3 separate regions of the Homo sapiens genome follow, and regions 1 and 3 are each linked to region 2. The links are contacts of gene promoters, found by promoter capture Hi-C in blood cells and fetal thymus (Javierre and others, 2016). All regions are on one chromosome and are shown on one strand. Each heading gives the region's core, a stretch centred on a gene start or on the middle of the fragment in contact. The rest is flanking DNA. Distances are from core to core; before and after follow the strand shown. Region 1 has its middle 13 kb from the start of TRQ-CTG6-1. Region 2 holds the start of PRSS16 (serine protease 16). Region 3 holds the start of OR2B6 (olfactory receptor family 2 subfamily B member 6).

Region 1 (2,700 bases), core at 153-2,652, 530 kb after region 2:
TGGCCCAGGGGTTGGGGCTCCCTGCTGTGATAGTTAATACCCATGGCTCCAAATCTAGTGGCCCCACGTCAGGTCCTGGTGGGACCTGGTTCAGTTTTGCTTAGGACTCATCTTGTCCACATGAACCATTCCAGCCTGCTTTCTCATGCTCTTATTCTGGGATATCTTCCTAACCCCAGTATATCTGCCTCAGTGTCTCACCCTGTCTTTTTAGAAAAGGAAAAAAAAAAAAAAAGAAAGAAAACGTAAATGAAATTGGTGGAGAGTAATGGCCACCAATCCTATGCCTGACCTGGAACTGGAAACACAAGGCTTTCCTGAAGACAGAGAAACTCTGAGAAAACGGGAAAAGCAAGTTGGTGAAAAGAGCAAAATAAAAGTTTCAGAAGGGACTTTCTTGACATAGCACAGGATGAAGGAGTATCAAAGGTCTCTGTTTGGGCCCTTGGCTGGGAAAGCCCACATTCGCTGAAAGTGAAAGCTGTCCGCAGACATAACACCAAAGGGTTAGGGTAGGAAGCCCCTTTTTATGAATTCAACGGCAGGGATAGGGGTGGGGATAAGGTGGGGCTGCGTGGGTACACCAGGCGCCCGGAAAGCTGCAAAAGGCGTTAGGTCAATATGCAAAAATACTTCTAGGTCAATACGCAAAAATACTTCTAGTGTTGGGAAAGAAATTTTATTGGGGACAGGAAACAAGCGAACTGGCTAATATACTTTCTCTCTAAGGAGAGTAGTCTGACTTAATGCCTTCCTCGATTCTCTCTAAGGGCTTCTGAGGGCTTTGCTTGACTTTTCTCCTGTTTCTGCTCCTGAGCCCAAAGCAGCTCTTAAAGAAAGAAATGTCAGGTTTTGAAGCATGTTTGGTAGATTTGGAAAGGGCAACTCGCAACTTGAAGGGGATTGTTGGAATCAACTGGTTCTAGAGTGAGCTGATCTTAAGAGGCCAAGAGGAAAAAAGAAAAACCGGGAAAGAAACAGTGAAAGAAAAACAGAAAGAGGCAAAACAGTGTAACAACAACAACAACAACAACAACAAAATGGCTGATCACCTGCATGATAAATAAGAAGAGTAGAAGCGTGTTTTCCGTTAGCAGAGTGGCGCAGCGGAAGCGTGCTGGGCCCATAACCCAGAGGTCGATGGATCTAAACCATCCTCTGCTAAAGAAGGGTGCTTTTTTTTTTTTTTTTCCCCCCCCCCTTCTTGAGGAATTACCTTCCACAGTTGTGGGGAGAAGATGGCCTCTAAATATATATTATATATATTATATCTCTCTCTCTCTCTCGCTCTCTCTCTCTTAAAAGTCCTTTCAGAGGCTGTATCTCACTTTTAGATATGTCTTCAGCATGTTCCTTCTCCTTTCTCCAAATGTTTGCGTAACTCCTTTCTTACTCATATCTTATTTGGAAAGGCATATCTTACTTGGGAAGAGGAGGTGACAATTCTCATGTTTACTTCCAACAAATTACCTATCTTCCAGTGAATAGAAAATACACTGAGGTTGAATATAATTTTATATTTTCTTGCACTCGAAGGCAAAACACTGTTACTGACTTTTGCCTGAGACCATTGGTTATTGTAAATCGTTATTGTCTTTTTGCTTCTACGGGAGCCTCCTGCTTCTTTTGCTCTTTTGTTCATCTCTATGCATGATTTATTAAATTCATTTCGTGTACTGTGAATTCTTCTCTAAAGCTATCTGTTACGATGGCCAAAAGACATCATTTATACCCTCCTCCTTCCATACTTACAGAAACTAGACACATGGAATGTTATGAGAAAGAGAAGCAACAATGAAGTTAAGTGTAAAATGGTTGATTCTACTTGGATAGATTTTTTTAAAAAATGTAAATGGTAGAAAACATAGGGGTACATTTAAAGCATTTTGTGAATCAGAATTCCATGGGCAAACTCAGAAGACCAATAATCTTTATTTTGTCTGCTTACCTTCTAGAAGCATTTTAACTAACTTTAAATGTCCAGGCATAAGAGATTGGTTGAATAAACTGTAACATGGACTCAAAGAGGAAGCGCTATGGGGCTACAAAAAAGATATAATTTCTAGGAGATAGTGTTAAGTAAAGAAAGTGCAGATGAATATTATAGTAGGCTACCTTTTTTCAAGAAGGAAGGGGAATTAAGAAAACATACACATACCTGTTTTTCTTTCTGAAAAGAAAACATAGTGAAGATAAACCAGAAAACAGTGAATCTGGCTACCTAAAATGGTGGTAAGAGACTTGGGGGAAATGGAGTGTAAGGGACATGGGACGCCACTTCTCTGAGTTTACCTTTTGTTATACCTTTAACTTTTGAAAGCATGTGAATGTTTTACTTTTTTTTTTTTTAACGGAAGAGGTTCTCTGTGTGAACATGTTGACTAAATACAAAAGGGTTATAAAAGGTCTTTGCTTCTTTAAAATTTCTGAGTCATCGTTTTGGCAAAATAAATAACTTATAGCAATCTGGAATTCCCAAAATCAAACATCGGTTTCAAAAATCTCTTCCCTGGCACCTGGCTTTTTGAATACTTCAGCGGGCCCCTGAAGTGTCCAGAAAAGACAGGTAAACAGGATTATTTGACACGTTTAGGTACATGGGATTGCCAAAATGATGCTCAATCTTCTTTAGGCTATATTTTTGTGAATAATACTAATATATATTTCAAAATTGTATGGGATTTCTAAAATAGTATAAGC
Region 2 (2,700 bases), core at 157-2,656:
TGTGCCATTTATAAGGGTGGTCAGGTAAAACCCATTTGGTAAGATAAAATATATGAATGGGGAACTATAGGAAGTGATAAAATAAGACTTGCAGATATTTGGAGGAAAAGCATCCTAAGGAGAGCAAAAATTCTAAGGAAGGAGTGAGTCTTGTGAAATATGAAATAGTCCAATGCAGTTGGAGCAGTGAACCCAGGAGGGGTAGGAGATGAAATCATGACAGTATATACAACAGGGGGCCAGGTCATACAGAGTTTTAAAAACTGTTTTCAAAACTTTAGATTTACTTTGAGTAAGATGGGGCATCAGGGAAGTGTTCTAAACCAGGGAGTGAATGATTGTGAATGATTGGGCTAATATTTAATTCTGTCTCTCTGTCTGCTGAGTGTAGAATAAATCATGAGGCAGAAACAGGGTGACCAGCTAAAAGCCTTCCATGATATCCCAAGTCAGAGATGATGGTGGCTCAGCAGTGGTAGCACTGAAGGTAGTGAGAAGTCATCAGATTCTGGATATATTTTTTAAATTTATGGGAATAACTTTTTAAATGTACAATATTTCTCATAGTGATAAGTCCCATGAAAAAGAATTAGGAATAAAGTTTGAAAAGGAATAGAAGAGGGCCATAGGTTTGGCAATTTTTAAAAAGCTGACCATGGAAGACCTTTCTGAATGAATGACCTTTGAATAAAGATCCAGTTGAAGTGAGGGAGCAAACCACGTGGGTATATAGGGAAATCACAATCCATAGGGTGGGAACAACAAGAATAAGAACCCTAAGGCAGAAGCAAGCCTGGTATGTTCAAAGAACTGTAAGGAGTCTATGGACAGTGTGAGATTGTGGGTCAGAGAAGCTCGGGACAGTGAAGCAGAGCAGAAAGTGAGGGGGCTGGAAAATAGACAAGGTGAGATTGGGGGACAAAGAGATGAGTATGGAGAGAAAGACTGAAAAAGAGATGGGGGACTGAGAAAAAAGAGACGGAAAGACTGAGTGTGGGAACAACTGAGGGGTACTGAAGATATGCTGAGGGGCAGAAAGAAAAGACTGAGAATAAGTGGGCAACTGGGGTTCCAGAGGAGGTGCTGAGGTGGGGAGAGACAGAGGTTGAAGGACAATAAGGCATGCAAAGGAGGAATCTGAGATAAAGAGAAGGTAGACCGAAGAGCGGAGAGGAGGAGACTGAGACAGCGAGGGCTACTGAGAGCTGAGGGAAGAACAGACTGAGAGGCCCAGAGAGAAGAAACTGGGAGTTCCGATGCTGCATCAGCAGCCTCTGTGTACAGACTCTGGCGTCCCTGCCCCGCTTTAGCAGTTCCTACAGACGCTTGACCTGCCAGGAAAGGAAAGAAACCTGAGCCTCTGCTGAAAGGTGATGGATTTAAGGCCCGGCTGCTGAGGATAAGATAAAGGTCCTCCTGGGGGAGAACAGAGTCCCGAACACCATGGCCGTCTGGCTTGCCCAGTGGCTGGGCCCTCTGCTCTTGGTTTCCCTCTGGGGACTCTTGGCTCCAGGTAAGAGGAGGCTGAGGGTCAAGCAGGGCATCCTAAGGGGGCCAGCCTGACTTCCTTCCCTCCATGTCCCACAGCCTCCCTTCTTAGGCGCCTGGGTGAGCACATTCAGCAGTTTCAGGAGAGCTCTGCCCAGGGCCTGGGCCTGAGCCTGGGGCCAGGTGCTGCAGCCCTCCCAAAAGTGGGGTGGCTGGAGCAACTGCTGGACCCCTTCAACGTGTCCGACAGACGATCCTTCCTACAGGTGAGGCCGGGAGACGGGGAGTCCACTAACCATCCTGCCCTCTCCTCAGTCTCCCTCATCTCTTCCTCAGTCTGCACTTTTTTCTCTCTCCACACCTCAGTTCTCCCCATCCCTCTGCTTGAATCTCATGTTATGCTTGCTGTCAGTATCCCTTTTCCTGCCCTTTGTAGATTTGGCCTTACTCTCTCCTCTCCTCGGGGTCCCACTCGTTTTGTCCCTCAGATCTTGCCCTTCACCATTTCTTTCTCTCTGTCATTCACATTCACTGCTCCTCCCTACCCCCTTGTCCCTGTCCAGACTGGACACAAAACCTACCACCAGGTCTCAGTAGGTAGCAGAAATTTGAACCAGCTTTGGAATCAGACCTAGCTCACAACAGGCACTCAAAGATATCTATCGAAAGAAGGAACAAATTCGCCATTTTTCAGTGCTTCCTCTGTATTTAGTCTCCAAATATCATCCCACTTGGATCTTATTCCTAAATCCATCTGCATTTATTTCTTATTTTACAATTATTACTTCAAGAAATAGCAAGTTCCTTCAATGTGAGAGCCACTCCCTCAGTTCTGGGGATATAAGAGTGAAAAACCAGGTCAAAAATTTGCTTTTGTATATTTTGCATTCTAGATGAGGAGATGAACAGGGGAAAAGTGAGCAAGTAAATAAACAAGCTCATTTCAGACACTGTTAAGTACATAAGGAAAGATCCATTAGGAAGAGAGACTGGAACAAATGAGGAATTGAGAATAAGTCAGGACTCTCACAGTGCCATTTCTTCTTCCCCATCCCACCTCTCAGCGTTACTGGGTGAATGACCAACATTGGGTTGGCCAGGATGGACCCATATTCCTGCATCTAGGGGGTGAGGGCAGCCTTGGGCCTGGCTCAGTGATGAGAGGTAAGAGGCAATGTTGGGGGAAAGGAGTTGGGATGCTGGTGGGGACCA
Region 3 (2,700 bases), core at 6-2,505, 710 kb after region 2:
AATGTCTCAGAGTTCCTGTGTCATATGATACTTTCATTCACATTGCTGTGTGCCATTATACCAGGTAATTTACATTAAAGATCACATTTATACTTCACATCAGATAGTTATTATTATCTCTGTTGTTAAAGTTGATGGTATTGGAGTTGTGGAGAGAACAAGATAAATATTACCTCACAGAGTCATTTTTTATTGGCAACCCCAGGACATTTAAAGTTCTGAAAATCATACATAATTTTTCTCTGAGCATCAGAAGATGACTACAGTTCCTTTTGTCTACACTTTGTACCACTATCCCAGGAAGGTATTATTATACTCATTTTATAGGTGAGGAGCTTGAAGCTCACAAAGAGTAAGAAACATTCCCAGGAGGATGTAACTAATGACTTATGTAGTAGGGACATGGACCCAGACTTGTCTGCCTCCAAATTCCATGCTACTAATATCTTTTTATTCTAATTTGATAAGGTCTTAGAAGGCAAAAGATGTTTCCCTGAGATGTGTCTAATAGCTTGCTACAGCCTATATGCATAGTTTTTGAGGCGGTCTAAATAATTTTAATTGTTTCACATCGTATGTTCCCATTCATAAGTGGGAACTAAGCTATGAGGAATGACACAATGGACTTTGGGGACTGGGGGGAAAGGGAAGGAGGGAGCTGAAGGATAAAAGACTACACATTGGGTACAGTGTTCACTGCTCAGGTGGTGGGTGCACCAAAATCTCAGAAATCACCACTAGAGAACTTATTCATGTAACCAAACACCTCCTGTTCCCCAAAAACCTATTGAAATAAAAAAAAATTTAAGAAACTAACAAATTGTTTGTTTCAGATGACAAGGCAGTTTCCTTAACATTGAGAAATTAGAGTGAAAAAAATGTGTTAGAGATTATGACCGAATCTAATAATAGCTATCTATGTGGACAGTATTACAAAAATTAACCAAATGACAAAAAATCAAAGAAGAAATTTTGTGAAAGTTGTTTAAAATCAGGAATCTACTTTTTACATTTTAGCTTTCACTTTTGCAGTGATGATACAGATATAGAAAGATTAAATTTTAGAAATACTTTGGTAATTATGAGCATTTTCAACTGTATATTTTTCATGTAATAAAACAAGCAATATCAATTCTGTAAATATCTTCAAACAGGTAGTAAAATGACTATAAGTAACTGAAATAGTTAACAAATATGTGTTAATTGACTTCCTGAATTTTTCTGTTTCAGGAAACCAAGAGTTGAAACATTAATCATGAATTGGGTAAATGACAGCATCATACAGGAGTTTATTCTGCTGGGTTTCTCAGATCGACCTTGGCTGGAGTTTCCACTCCTTGTGGTCTTCTTGATTTCTTACACTGTGACCATCTTTGGCAATCTGACCATTATTCTAGTGTCACGCCTGGACACCAAACTTCATACCCCCATGTATTTTTTTCTTACCAATCTATCACTCCTGGATCTTTGTTACACCACATGTACAGTCCCACAAATGCTAGTAAATTTATGCAGCATCAGGAAAGTAATCAGTTATCGTGGCTGTGTAGCCCAGCTTTTCATATTTCTGGCCTTGGGGGCTACTGAATATCTTCTCCTGGCCGTCATGTCCTTTGATAGGTTTGTAGCTATTTGTCGGCCTCTCCATTACTCAGTTATCATGCACCAGAGACTCTGCCTCCAGTTGGCAGCTGCATCCTGGGTTACTGGTTTTAGTAACTCAGTGTGGTTGTCTACCCTGACTCTCCAGCTGCCACTCTGTGACCCCTATGTGATAGATCACTTTCTCTGTGAAGTCCCTGCACTGCTCAAGTTATCTTGTGTTGAGACAACAGCAAATGAGGCTGAACTATTCCTTGTCAGTGAGCTCTTCCATCTAATACCCCTGACACTCATCCTTATATCATATGCTTTTATTGTCCGAGCAGTATTGAGGATACAGTCTGCTGAAGGTCGACAAAAAGCATTTGGGACATGTGGTTCCCATCTAATTGTGGTGTCTCTTTTTTATAGTACAGCCGTCTCTGTGTACCTGCAACCACCTTCGCCCAGCTCCAAGGACCAAGGAAAGATGGTTTCTCTCTTCTATGGAATCATTGCACCCATGCTGAATCCCCTTATATATACACTTAGGAACAAGGAGGTAAAGGAAGGCTTTAAAAGGTTGGTTGCAAGAGTCTTCTTAATCAAGAAATAAGAAATATGCAAATGATAAGCTTTGCTAAAGACAAAATGTTTACTTAGCTTACTAACTTCTCTGTAAGTTGCCCTATTTTTGTTGTTACTGTAGAGAACAATGTAAACTCCCTCAAATAAAATTTCCTTGATGAAGAGCTATATTTACTTCTGTTGCCTTAATGTTTTCATTGAACAAGCCCCCAGAATTGACCTTCCAATTCACCAAAAATTGTAATCACAACATCTTCAAGGTTTGTCAAACATCCCATCAATGCTTGTACAATTCAATGTAAATTAGATCCGTAGAAAAGCCAGAAGTTCTTTCTCCAATATCACACACACACACACACACACACACACACACACACACTAGTTAAACGAGGCTCACTGAAACTCTCAAACCCCACCACTTCAAATTTGGATCTGAGGTTAACAATTCTAATTTTAAATTTTCCACTCCCGCATCAGCATAAGGAAATCTATAATAATTTTTATTCTAAAATTGTAACCAGATTTTCCATT

Evidence for each region. Contacts are between HindIII fragments. The CHiCAGO score rates a contact against its expected background, and 5 or more counts as called.
Region 1: a contact is called between a fragment that was not itself captured here and the fragment with the promoter of PRSS16 in region 2, in 1 of 17 cell types (erythroblasts). The highest score is 5.4, in erythroblasts.
Region 3: a contact is called between the fragment with the promoter of OR2B6 here and the fragment with the promoter of PRSS16 in region 2, in 8 of 17 cell types (monocytes, total CD8 T cells, M2 macrophages and 5 more). The highest score is 7.7, in monocytes.

What each region holds. Positions count from the first base shown.
Region 1 is chr6:27,776,793-27,779,492 of GRCh38, forward strand. No RefSeq gene overlaps it. Among named protein-coding and RNA genes, the nearest start is that of TRQ-CTG6-1, 13 kb to the right of the region's middle. RefSeq lists a silencer at 1,091-1,150. The HindIII fragment of the contact is 2,981 bases long and covers 1-2,700 here.
Region 2 is chr6:27,246,295-27,248,994 of GRCh38, forward strand. PRSS16 (serine protease 16) reads left to right here and starts at 1,407. Exons shown (of 12, transcript NM_005865.4): 1 at 1,407-1,513; 2 at 1,588-1,754; 3 at 2,553-2,652. The coding sequence starts at 1,444. The HindIII fragment of the contact is 3,507 bases long and covers 1-2,700 here.
Region 3 is chr6:27,955,986-27,958,685 of GRCh38, forward strand. It overlaps OR2B6 (olfactory receptor family 2 subfamily B member 6), which reads left to right and starts at 1,256. Exons shown (of 1, transcript NM_012367.1): 1 at 1,256-2,197. The coding sequence starts at 1,256. The coding sequence ends at 2,197. The HindIII fragment of the contact is 2,455 bases long and covers 1-2,214 here.